Regions from separate parts of the Homo sapiens genome. Here all the other regions are linked to region 1. The links are contacts of gene promoters, found by promoter capture Hi-C in blood cells and fetal thymus (Javierre and others, 2016). All regions are on one chromosome and are shown on one strand. The core of a region is centred on a gene start or on the middle of the fragment in contact, and the rest is flanking DNA. Distances in the headings are between cores, read along the strand shown. Region 1 holds the start of PTAR1 (protein prenyltransferase alpha subunit repeat containing 1). Region 2 overlaps SMC5 (structural maintenance of chromosomes 5). Region 3 overlaps SMC5-DT (SMC5 divergent transcript). Region 4 has its middle 100 kb from the start of ENTREP1.

What was found. The method cuts DNA at HindIII sites, captures the fragments that hold promoters and counts their contacts. A CHiCAGO score of 5 or more calls a contact.
Region 2: a fragment that was not itself captured here is called in contact with the fragment with the promoter of PTAR1 in region 1 in 3 of 17 cell types (total CD8 T cells, non-activated CD4 T cells and naive CD4 T cells); the score reaches 7.8 in total CD8 T cells.
Region 3: a contact is called between a fragment that was not itself captured here and the fragment with the promoter of PTAR1 in region 1, in 6 of 17 cell types (non-activated CD4 T cells, total CD8 T cells, naive CD8 T cells and 3 more). The highest score is 8.6, in non-activated CD4 T cells.
Region 4: a fragment that was not itself captured here is called in contact with the fragment with the promoter of PTAR1 in region 1 in 1 of 17 cell types (endothelial precursors); the score reaches 5.3 in endothelial precursors.

What each region holds. Positions count from the first base shown.
Region 1 is chr9:69,758,514-69,761,704 of GRCh38, reverse strand. PTAR1 (protein prenyltransferase alpha subunit repeat containing 1) reads left to right here and starts at 1,694. Exons shown (of 8, transcript NM_001099666.2): 1 at 1,694-1,852. The coding sequence starts at 1,767. LOC105376076 (a long non-coding RNA gene) reads right to left here and starts at 1,610. Exons shown (of 4, transcript XR_929910.3): 1 at 1,232-1,610. RefSeq lists enhancers at 1-672, 2,147-2,196 and a silencer at 1,537-2,006. The HindIII fragment of the contact is 9,606 bases long and covers 1-2,432 here.
Region 2 is chr9:70,268,635-70,271,825 of GRCh38, reverse strand. All of the region lies in intron 3 of SMC5 (structural maintenance of chromosomes 5), which reads right to left. Among named protein-coding and RNA genes, the nearest start is that of SMC5, 11 kb to the right of the region's middle. The HindIII fragment of the contact is 5,613 bases long and covers 1-3,191 here.
Region 3 is chr9:70,250,316-70,253,506 of GRCh38, reverse strand. The region is part of intron 2 of SMC5-DT (SMC5 divergent transcript); the gene reads left to right. Among named protein-coding and RNA genes, the nearest start is that of SMC5-DT, 7.0 kb to the left of the region's middle. The HindIII fragment of the contact is 2,969 bases long and covers 1-2,945 here.
Region 4 is chr9:69,423,512-69,426,702 of GRCh38, reverse strand. No RefSeq gene overlaps it. Among named protein-coding and RNA genes, the nearest start is that of ENTREP1, 100 kb to the right of the region's middle. The HindIII fragment of the contact is 930 bases long and covers 1,105-2,034 here.

The DNA of each region.
Region 1 (3,191 bases), core at 445-2,944:
GTGTAAGCCACCGTGCCCGGTCCTATCTCACTTCTTTTACAACCAGAAGGCTAACTCCAGCCTTTATAAACATACCCACAGGAAATACTGGCCACTGAGTATAGTAAATTTATATTTTTCGTTTATATTTCTCATTCACTTTACATGCAATAGATAGCTTTTACTTTTACAATCATAAAAACTACTTCAAACGCTCCGCATATGTTCACATTAAACACACCATGAGTTTATTTTTTTAATAGCTTTTTAAAGATACAGATTTCTTTTTTTTTTTTTTTGAGACAGAGTCTCGCTCTGTCGCCCAGGCCGGACTGCGGACTGCAGTGGCGCAATCTCGGCTCACTGCAAGCTCCGCTTCCCGGGTTCACGCCATTCTCCTGCCTCAGCCTCCCGAGTAGCTGGGACTACAGGCGCCCGCCACCGCGCCCAGCTAATTTTTTGTATTTTTAGTAGAGACGGGGTTTCACCTTGTTAGCCAGGATGGTCTCGATCTCCTGACCTCATGATCCACCCGCCTCGGCCTCCCAAGGTGCTGGGATTACAGGCGTGAGCCACCGCGCCCGGCCTTTTTTTAAAGACGGAGTCTCGCTCTGTCGCCCAGGCTGGAGTGCAGTGGGGAGTAGCTGGGATTACAGGCGCCCGCCACCACGCCCGGCTTTTTTTTTTTTTTTTTTTTTTTTGTATTTTTAGTAGAGACGGGGTTTCACCGTGTTAGCCAGGATGGTCTCGATCTCCTGACCTTGTGATCCGCCCGCCTTGGCCCCCCAAAGTGCTGGGATTACAGGCGTGAGCCACCGCACCTGGCCAGATTTCAAGGGTGGAAGAATAAAACTGAACCAAGGGCAGCCAGATTTTTCTACCAGAGGTGCAAAAGAAAACCTGATACACAAAAATTTTAGTTATGGCATTTCAAAATCCTAAATAAACTAGAAAGCTCGTTTTTCCTACAAAAATTTATTTTTGCTATTATGAACAAACCCTGTCAGAGCCTTGATCCTTTTTTTTAAATTCCAAAATTGACGCAAAGGCTACCAAATGCAGTACAAAATGAAGTCGAAAAATCTAAAAACGATTTCACTTCTACTTCCTACATACAGATGGCAAATAACTTTTCCTTCACTTTCCTTTCTCTTCCTTTAATAAATTTAAGAATTTTAATTAATGTTTTTTAAAAAGGCTGCTTTCAAGTTCAGAGACAAAAATTGGCACAGTTAGAAAGGAGGTCACCAACACGGTCAAATAGGGACTCGCTCCGCCGCAATGCCTCTGGACCTCTTCATCTCTCAGGCTGGGAAAATAAAGCAGACAAGCTCTGAAAAACGCCCGGGACTAACTGTTAAGAGGCCCTGCATCCTCAGTTGAACATTCCTTCAGGAATGCCCGGGGACCTTGCTGGGGGGGTTCAGGAAGGTGTCTGACTCTCTGGGAGTGTGTCTTGAGGTTTCGCCTAAAACTTAAAATAAGAAAATCGGAGGCCTGAGAGAACTTTGCAAACAAATGTCCAGCATCTTCTCTGACGCTTAGAAAGTCCGTTACCCGCGCGGAGGCGAACTTCTCCACTCACTGGAAGGCCACCAACCCTAGCTAACGCCACGCCCAGGCCGCCAACTGGCTGACCCGGAAGTGCTCGGCGGCGGCCGCGGCGGCGGGGACGCGGCCTAGCCGAAGCACCCGCGCGCGCGCGCGCGCGCTCGTTCTCCGCGGAACTCCCGCCGGCGGCCCGGCTCACGCGGAGGCGCGCCCGAACTGTCGCGGCCGCCGCCAACATGGCCGAGACCAGCGAGGAGGTGGCGGTGCTGGTGCAGCGGGTTGTGAAGGACATCACTAACGCCTTCAGGAGGAACCCACACATGTGAGTCGCGCGCCTCCGCCGCCTCCGAGGGTCGTCGGGAGCGGGCGGGGGCGGGGCCAAGCGTCCACCCGACCTCGGGCGGCGGGCGGACAGCGGGTCCTGGCCCACGAGCCCTTCTAGGGAGGAGGCAGAGCCGTGTCGGGCGGGACCGTTGTCGGCCGCCGCTGGCCCGGCTTTCCGCTACCGGGACGCGCTCGCGGTCGAGTCCCTAGAAGTGACCTCAAAAAATCAAAACGGAACTACTTTCTCTGTCCCTCCCCACCTTTTCATAGGAGTTCACGAAACTCCAGAGACGTCCCCCGTAGGTCGACATCCTTCCTGTGTTTAAGGTACTCGGGCGCACACAACGATGTGGGTCCGTGTATGCCTTGTAAACACAACTCTTGAGATTCATCCCGGACGTTGGCAAGAGGGGGTAACCGATCCTCTTACTTTTAATGAGCCTCAAACCCCTCAGTTTACTAACTAAAGGTGGTTTGAGGCTGCTTTTGACTTTAGCCTTACTTGCCACAAAATTGTAAAGTGACTCCGATAATACATTGTGTTTTGAAAGGTGAACAGAACATTCTCAAGAGAAGCTTCTGTGGGCGCAGTGTGGAGTCTGGGATAAAGCAAATGAAACCTTGATACTTTTTAGCATAAGCGGATTCATAGTTACAAGGAGCATGTTAACTCATTTTTATCCCAACACTGCTGCCCTCTTTAACGGGACACTGCAGAACTGACATATGTATCTCTTCCATTTTACTTGAAGTACTGTGGGAAGATACCGCAAGAGTCTACTTTTTGTAACACTTTGCTTTTATGTAACAAGTGAAAAGAAAGCTATTGAGAGAGAGAGAGAGATCTACATTATACAAAGGTGTAGGGAAGAAGCAACAATGTACCTCCTTTCCCATACCTCTTCCTCCTCAAAGAAAAGAAACATGGCATCCAGTTCTGCATTACTTTCATTTTAGCTAGTTGTTTTTGGAGTTTATTTTTTTTTTTTTTAGTTTATTATTTTTTATTATTATTTAATTTATTTTTATTTTATTCTTTAGACTGGAGCTCATGATTTTTTTTTTTAAGTATTCTAACCGGTTCAGCTTTTCTGCCTAAAAAAGTTGCCAAACGTGTATCTTACCAAAGTGTTCTTTTCCTCCAAGGTGATGATTGTAAAACAGTTAAGAAGCCGTTGGATGTTTTGCTCCCTTGTGGCACACAATTGGAGACGTGCAACTGTGCCACATTAAAAACAAAACACTGCTGGCCTCAAAACACACCTGCCACCTCTGACAGCATCCACTTCCCTCCCCCTTATGACTGCTGCCTTTTTCAAAATGAGAGTGTTTGGAAT
Region 2 (3,191 bases), core at 257-2,756, 510 kb before region 1:
CTTAGCATTTGCAAATCTCTATACCTGAAATATTATTTCCCCAATTATCTCCATGCTCATTACCTTTCCTCCTTCAGGTCTTTGCTTAAATCCTATCTTCTCAGTGAGATCTTTCCTGATCAGGTTATTTAAAACTGTAAAACTCCACTCTGTCACTCCTATCCTCCTTTTCTGCTTTATTTTTCTATGTAGCACTTATCACCACCTAACATATATACATTTTACTTATCTAACTGTCCCTCCTTATGCCCCTAACTATAAATTCCATGAGGGAAGAGTATCCCCAATGTATAGGTACTCAATAAATATTTGGAAAATGACTACATAAATACATGCCAGAGATTATTCTACCCACCATTCTACTCAAGGAATACATGGCCAGTTAGTATACTTGTTTAATGGCAATAATTTCAACAACTAATGATGAGCTGTTTTACATTTGGTACTCTCAAGGCCATGTGAACCTTCGTGGAAAAAGTGCTTGACGTTTATATACTTAAATTTTATTTATGTGTAGGGTGTTAGGTAAAGCTCTAAATTTATCTTTAAAAAATTAACTTTTTTAAAGTTATATAATAAGATAATTATCACAGCTCAATTTGAATAATTTACATTATGATACTGTGATATACAGGTTGAGTATCCCTGTATACTCCAAAATCCAAAATGCTCCAAAATCCAAAACTTCTTGTGTGCCAACATGACATTCAATGGTAATGGTCATTGGGGTGTTTCATATTTCAGATTTTCAGATTGGGGATGTTGAACCGATAAGTATAATGCAAATATTCTAAACTCAAAACAAATCCAAAATCCAAAACACTTCTGGTCCCAAGTGTTGCAGATAAGGGATACTCAGCCTGTATTAAGAAATATGTAGGCCGGGTATGGTGGCTCACACCTGTAATCCCAGCACTGTGGGAGGCCAAGGCGGGCGGATCACTTGAGGTCAGGAGTTCAAGACCAGCCTGGCCAACATGGCGAAACCCTGTCTCTACTAAAAATACAAAAATTAGCCAGGTGTGGTGGTGGGTGCTTGTAATACCAGCTACTTGGAAGGCTGAGGTGGAAGAATCACTTGAGCTCGGGAGACAGAGGTTGCAGTGAGCCGAGATTGCACCACTGCACCCCAGCCTGGGCGACAGTGACACTCCGTCCCAAAAAAAAAAAAAAAAAAAAAAAATTATTTAGTCTCTGTCCTCAATTCCTGACACAGAACTCCTAATCCCTTGGAATTTCCTAGGTGACAAGTGTGTCTTTTTCTAATGAGGCAACTCTTGTTGGGCTCCTGGATGTGGGCTGGTCACCAGAAAGATAAAGCCATGAACAGAAACTTAGAACCTTCAGCCCCACCAACCTACTCCCCATCCTCTGGGAAGGGAAGCAGGGCTAGAGATTGAGTTTCTTATACCCATGTGATGAAGCCTCCATAAAATTCCCTGAACCATGGGTTTCAGAGAGTTCCCAGATTACGAAACACATCCATATGCTGGGAAAGTGGGGAAAGAAGCTCCTGCACTCCGGACCCTTCCAGACCTCGCCCTGTATTTTGCTAATCATCTGCATCTTCTGTAGTATCCTTTATAATACATGGGTAAACCTAAGTGTTTCCCATCCTAGCAAATAACTGGACCAAGAAAGGGGTCCTGAGAACCTCAATTTACAGCTGGTTGGTCAGAAGTACAGGGCACAACCTAAGACTTACAAATGGCATATAAAGTGGAGGGCAGTCCTGTGTGACTGAGCCCCTAAACTATGGGTCCTGCACTAATTTTTGGTTAGTGTCAGAATTGAACTGAATTGCAGGGTGTGGGGAAAAAACCCCACACATCTGGTGTAGAAGTGTTCTGTGCTGTGTTGAGTTTGAGAATAGCAAAAACAACTTTGGTTTTTCCTATCTCTTAAAATATCCCACACTTAATTAAACTGCCACTTTTATAATAAGTTCTCATGTACATTTCGATCTGTTCCTGGTTTCTACATTCTGCTCCTCTCATCTTCTATACCAGTATCACGCTTATTTTTAAATCAACAACTTTACAGTATACTTCAACATGTGGTAGACAAAAATCTTATTTACAACTTTGCTTTTTCAAAATCTCCTTGGGTTTTCTGGCACATTTATTCTTCAAGATGAAGTTTAGAATCAACTTGTAAACTTACCTGTTGAGACTCTCATTGTAATTGTATCAAATGTATGTATTAATTTACAAAGGATTGACTTTTTTTGTTTTTGTTTTTTTTGCAGACAGAGTCTCACTCTGTCACCCAGGCTGGAGTGCGGTGGCACAATCATGGCTCACTACATCCTCTACCTCCCCAGGCTCAGGTGATCCTCTCATCTCAGTTTCCTAAGTAGCTAGGACTACAGGTGCGCAGCCAGGCCTGGCTAATTTTTGTATTTTTTGTAGAGATGGGGTTTTGCCATGTTGCTCAGGCTGGTCTCCAACTGCTGGACTCAAGCAATCACTTGCCTTGGCCTCCCATAGTGCTGGGATTACGCACATGAGCCACTGCACCTGGTCTGACATGTTAATAATGACATTAACTTTATGTTTCTAGGAACGTATCACGCACCTCCATTTCTTCAGGTCTTGATTTTATATTCTTCAACAAAATTCTATCATATTTTAATAAGTTGGGTATTTCAAAATTTATTTTCTTTTTACTTCCATGTTTATCTTTCTCATCTCTATATAAATAAAAACTGAGTAATTTTTTATAAAAGAACGTTTCCTCATCTCATATCAAATAGTAGGGCTATCAGATAATCTTTAAAGGCTTTTCAGCTCAAAAATGCCACAACTTTCCACTAATATTCCAACAGCAACAGTCTCTAAAAATCACCTAAATAATGTGCATATTTATGTGTAAAGGATTAAAATTATATATACCAAGGATGGTCAACTGGTTTCATCATAAACATCAACTCTAGTCTATCAAAAATAGCTGCCAAGAATGGCCAATTGAGAATATCCAAGCTCAAGGGAAAAGAATACTATGATGAATTATTGGTGTCATAAGGGAGAAAATAAAAAATGGTGACAGAAGTACCAAGTCCTTGTCATACATGAGATTCATCAAACTATTAGCAGTAGTTATTTATAGAATTAGGAATGATGGCAAGAAGGCTTTTATTTTCAACATTATACACTTCTACATTGTTTGCGTTTTTTAAAGACAAGCAAGTA
Region 3 (3,191 bases), core at 212-2,711, 490 kb before region 1:
TGGAACAAGGTGCAGGTAATAGAACCCTGTGAGACCGTCTCTAACTGAGGGCATATTACTTTTGCTTTTGGCAAATTCATAAAGTAAATAAGTGAACCTTCATGGCCTGAAAGGGAGGGAAGAAGGCAGATGGTAAAACTCAAGTCCTTGGTACCCAGGACCAAGTCCCATTCTATCCCCCCAAACGCTGAGCAAAACCACACACTTTCTAATCAATCTTGTTAAAGAATTGGTGGAACAGATCTAGGCAGGGATTAGGGATCTGAGGAAAACCAGTGCCCCTCCCACGGAGGAACTAAAACCCCATACAGCAGGCTTCTGCTGGAGATATGAAAACCTTCTTGAGAGAATGTTTAAAAATGTTTTTCGTTTTTAAACATTTGTTTCAAACATCATACAAAAGTTTAAAATGATCAAAATGTCTGCTGCTTCTTACTGTAGTAGTATTAACATTGGAACTGCATAGTAGTAGCTGTAGAATTGGTAGTAATAGCTAATACAACAGCATTTACCACACACCAGCTATGGTTCTAAGCACCTTTACTGATTTCATTTCTATATGCTGGATCAGTGTCTCAACAGACTGGCCTCTTTCTAAAATTTCTATTTATTGGGTGCAAAAACTGACGGAAAGATTCAAAAAAATAATCACAATTAATGTAACATTTCAAGTGTTCTTTGTGATGTGTTACAATAGAGAGCCTAAAGATGAATGGGCCTTCATCGCTTTCAAGGATGTAAAATGAGAAAACAGTATTAAATTGTTCCAGAAGAACTGACCTTCAGTTTCAGAAAGATGAATGAGTTGCTAAAGCACTGTGTAATCTCCTTTGCTGGAAGTCTGTGCTTATTGAACTCACAGTCCTTCTTGCCCAGGGAAGGCCAGGAACATAAGCAGAGCTCTGGGAGGACTTCGGGAGTGGACGAATGTTTCTTCTCCTACCCCGTTACTTCCCAAAGGAAAGAAAATTGGTAGTTGTCAGAACTGTGGTAAAACTTCAGAAACCAGCTACCTAAATTATAAAACGAGTCTTTTGGTATCAGTCTCCTAGAGTGGCACTTTCATCCTAGCATTGTTCTAACAAGCTGGGATGCTGCCGAGCTCCCCCAGAAACGGGCTGGTTTTAAGTTCTCATTTCCACTGCTTTCATTAGTAGATATAATTTTTTTTTAGAATTAAAATTATTTTTGTATTTTTGTTATTTAGGAAATTTGAATATCCAAAAAGCACAGAGCAGAAACCAGTCACCATTCATCCACATTCCTACAATCAAAAAAAATTAACACATGGCAATTTGACATATCTTCTAGTTTTTGTTCTTTCCTATTATCTACTTTTTAAAAAATTACACGTGGGGCCGGGCACAGTGGCTCATGCCTGTAATCCCAGCACTTTGGGAGGCAGGCGGATCACTTGAGGCCAGGAGTTCAAGACCAGCCTGGCCAACATGGCGAAACCCTGTCTCTACTAAAATTACAAAAAGATTAGCTGGGCGTGGTGGTGTGTGCCTGGGGTCCCAGCTACTCAGGAGGCTGAGTCATGAGAATTGCTTGTACCCAGGAGGTGGAGGTTGCAGTGAGCCGAGACTGCCACTGCACTCCAGCCTGGGCAACAGAGTGAGACTCTGCTTCAAAATAAAAAATAAATTACATGTGAAACATATGATTACATTCCCTTTTTAAAAGTGAGAATAATACAAATAAAATTAGTGTGCATTTGACGTTTATCTCTCTCAGTCTTGTTGCTTTATCCTTTATCCTCCAGAGTTAACTACTCGTATGCGCTTGTGCAGTGTATAATGTCCTTTCAAGCCATTTTTGTATTTTACATGCATTTTTTCTATAGAGAATATGTAATAATATTTTGAGTGCAAATGTATTACATAAACACAATATATTAAATACATACATAAATGTATTAATATAAAAATAAACTAAGAATAGTTATACAATTTGATTTTATATTAAAAAGTATATATTTTGAAATGTGTCCATGTTGATACATATAAATCTAATTCCCTTTTATTGCTGTAGAGTTTTTATGTGAGTATATGACACTTTATCCATTACTCTACTAATTTGACATATAGATTGCTTCCAGTTTTTCATTTTTACAGTGTTTCAGGGATATGTCTTTATGTACATGTGCAAGCATTTCTCTAGGATAGATACCAAAGTTTAGAATTGCTAGACTGTATGCCATACTTATTACTCTCCTTCAGTTTCTTGGTATTGTGGATATTATTGCTTGTGGCAAATTTCTTGGTAACTGATAATTTGAGAATTATATCAGTACAGGCTTGACTCAGTGGCCCATGCCTGTAATCTTAGCACTTTGGGACGCCAAGGAGGGTGAATCGCTTGAGCCCAGGATTTGGAGTCCAGCCTGGGCAACATGGCAAAACCTCGTCTCTACTAAAAATGTAAAAACTGTGGGTGGGCACGGTGTCTCACACCTGTAATCCCAGCTCTTAGGGAGGCAGAGGCAGGAGGATAGCCTGAGCCCAGGAGTTTGAGACCTGCCTGGGCAATACAGCAAGACCCATTCTCCACAAAAAGGAAAAAAACAAAAACTGAGGGGGGAGGATCACCTGAGCCTGGGGAGGTTGAGGCTGCAGTGGGCCGTGATGGCACCACTACACTCCAGCCTGGGTGACACAGCAATACCTGGTTTCAAAAAAAAAAAAATTATATCAGAACAAAATCTCTCTCATTTCCTCTCTCTACCATTGTCTTTAGTTCATCTCTCTCTCTCTTTTTCTCCCCATCTCTCTCGCTTCCTCTCTCTACCATTGTATTTAGTTGGTCTCTCTCTGTCTATGTGTGTGTCTCTGTCTCTCTTTCCCTCCCATGCACCTGCACATACACCTACAGACACACATATCTCCTTCACACAGTGTCCTCTCTTTCCTCCACCATATTTTCATTCTATGGGGACTGAAGCTTATATAATTTTTGAAGTATCCTCTGAAAAAATACAAAATTACAAGTACAAATTCTGATTATTCAGAATGGGAGAAAAGCTCACAGTCTCAGCACTGTTGACATTTGGGGTTAGCTAGAGTTCTTTGTTGGGGGAGGTGAGGCACTGTCCTGTGCATTGGAGGATGTTCAACAGCATCCCTGACCTCTACTCACTAGATGTCAGTAGCACCTCCCTTATTTTGACAACCCAAAATGTCCCAGATATT
Region 4 (3,191 bases), core at 320-2,819, 330 kb after region 1:
CAGCTAGTCTTTATAGTAACTTCCATGTGCCAAGCATCCTACAGAGATGAACTTGGTAACTCCCCACAACACCTCTAAGAGGTAGAAGCTTTTCCTGTATTATCATTGTCTCCATTTTATACAGGAGGAAACGGGCACAGAGGGTTCAAGCACTTATGCTCAGCTTTCCAACAACTCCCACCTGCACCCACCTGGGACAGGCTTGTCATCGCACACGGATGAACTCAGCGTTAGACTTTTGGGTCTCTTTTGGTTCTTATAATGTTTTCCTTCCTGGTTTTCTTCCATTGATTTGCAAACCACATCTCTTATTCAAATCAGTCTGCCCTACTTCCCCATCCCCAGACTGGAATTGAGCACTGGCCTAGGAGAGCGGGACTTGCTCTCAGCTCCCTCCCTCCCTCCCTGTCTCCTTCTTTGAGTCCCTTTATGGGAAGGGGCATGGGTAGGAGGTGCACAGAGGTTCCCCTACATTAAGAGTTGCCCTTGGGAAGGTCACAGTCCTCGCCTTGCTGGTTCATTCTGCTGATCTGGTCCACTGACCAGGAGATCAATGAAGACAAACAATTGGCAGCAACCGGGCATTCAGGGTCCCTGAGCCCTGGGCCCCATCTTCCAGCTGACCCCTTAGCCACAGTCCTCTAAAGCAGCAGTCTCCACCTTTTTTGGCACCAGGGACCAGTTTCATGGAAGACAGTCTTTCCAGAGACCGGGTGCCACGGAGGGGGATGATTCAAGCACATTATATTTATTGTGCACTTTATTTCTCTGATTGTTATATAATGAAATAATTATACAATTCACCATAGAATTGTATAATTATACAGTTCACAATTCTATGGTGAACTGTATAATTCAGTGGGAGCCCTGAACTGGTTTTCCTGCAACTCAATGGTCCCTTCTAGGGCTGATGGGAGACAGTGACAGATCATCAGGCATTAGATTCTCATAAGGAGCCTGCAACCTAGATCCCTCGCATGCACAGTTCACGATAGGGTTCACACTCCTATGAGAATCTAATGCTGCCGCAGATCTGACAGGAGGCGGAGCTCAGGCGGTAATGTGAGCCAGCGACGGCGAGCGGCTGTAAATACACATGAAGCTTTGTTCACTTGTTGCTCGCCTCCTGCTGTGTGGCACAGTTCCTAACAGGCCACAGACTGGTACCAATCTGTGCACACCTCTAAAGTGCACACCTCTTCCACACAGGTTGTGTCCCCAGCCGCCTGCAGCCACCATCTCCCCAGCCAGCAAGCTCCTGAAGCATCCAGCAACCATCCTCCTCACCCTCAGAGGAAGGGAGGGGCACCCCTGGCTGTCTCTCCCCTGCCCATCCCAGAGCCATTGCTTCCTATTATCTCTCTCACCACCCACAGCACCACACCTTCTGCTGGTCCGGTCCCTCGGCCACATGTAGATAAGACGTTACCAGCACCCAGTTCAGTGTGTGGGGAGGCAAGTGGAGGGCACAGGCCCCCAGCCTTCACAGTGATGCTCTTGGGATTCGCCTCCCTTGACGAGGTCAATATTCCCTTGCCTCCCAGAGTGGAGTGGCGAGTAAGTAGCTCCTTTCCTGAATTCTGCACCCATCCCCCGCCAATGACAACACCCCTCTCACATCACCAGGATGACGGTGGGAAGACAGCTGGTGGGAGGGTCTAGTCTTTGAACTGGCACCTCTCAGCAAGCTCCCTGGAAGTCTGTCTGTCCCACAGGAGACCACAGTCCCCTGATGGATGGTATCTGCCTGTGTGGGTGTGGTCTGCCCCCACAGGCAAGGCTGCTCCTACCATAGACTATACCTTAGCTTCCCCCTCTTGGCTTTGATCTTAGATGAAATTGCAGAACTAGAGAAAAAAACCATTTAACCACCTTGATGCACATAGAACCACTTTATTTAGGTCTTTCTTCTATAATTTTTGCTTAAACTGTGATCCTCAGAGTTCCTTAAACCCTCTGAGCTTGTTTCCTCATCTGCAAACTAGTGTTTATCTCAGGGAGACCGTGTGAGGATAAGCTAACACATAGAAAGCTTTCAGAATGTGCATGGCGCATAGTGGTTGCTGAGGAAGTACTGGCCGTTCCTGGGGCCCAGCAGATCCAGGTCCTCATAAGCTTCCTGGAATTTCCAGACCCCCTGGGTACACCAACGGGAGCCACAACTCAAGAGGCTCCGCACGCACTTGCATGGCTTAGTGCAGGTCGCCCCCAAACACCCGAAGTCCTAAACTACTGATGTACTGAATTTCATCCAAAAGCAGATTTTAGCCCCTGGGAAAAACTTCTAGATGCCAATGCATACTTTTTTAAAAGTTAAAAAACATAACTCCCATAACAAAGATGGAATGAACACATATCAGAGATTTATTAATCATTAATGATGAAACAAGTAAGATGGTAAAGCTGGTCCAAAAAGTATTTGGAGGACCTAAGTATTTATAGACATTTTTAAAAGAATGTTAGAATAAAATTACTAGGTTTGAAGTAAAACCGGTTGCGACTGGGCATGGTGGCTCACACCTGTAATCCCAGAACTTTGGGAAGCCGAGGCGGGTGGATCATCTGAGGTCAGGAGATTGAAACCAGCCTGGCCAACGTGGTGAAACCCCACCTCTACCAAAAACACAAAAATTAGGCATAGTGGTGGGCATCTGTAATCCCAGCAACATGGGAGACTGAGGCATGAGAATCGCTTGAACCCAGGAAGCGGAGGTTGCAGTGAGCCGAGATTGCACCACTGCACTACAGCCTGGGTGACAGAGCGAGACTCCGTCTCAACAATAAAATAAAATAAAACAAAACTGGCTAATGTCCTTAAGGCAATACAATTATAACCTTTAGGGTTATCTTTCTACCAAATAGAAATCATTTGCATCTCTAGTTGTGGGCAGGAGGAGGGCAGTTGGTTGGTAATTAGTGCTCTGCAGAAAAAATAAAGCATGGACACTGCCCTCCAGCCTGGGCAACAGAGCGAGACCCTATCTCAAAATAAATAAAATAAAATAAAATATAAAAGCATGGAACAAGAATTGAAAGCAGGGGCCAGGTGTGATAGCTCACACCTGTGATCTCAGCACTTTGGGAGGCCAAGACAGGGGGATCATTTGAGCTCAGGAGTTCCAGACCAGTCTGGGCAACATAGCAAAACCCTGTCTCCACAAAAAAAAATAAAATTAACTGGACGTGGTGGT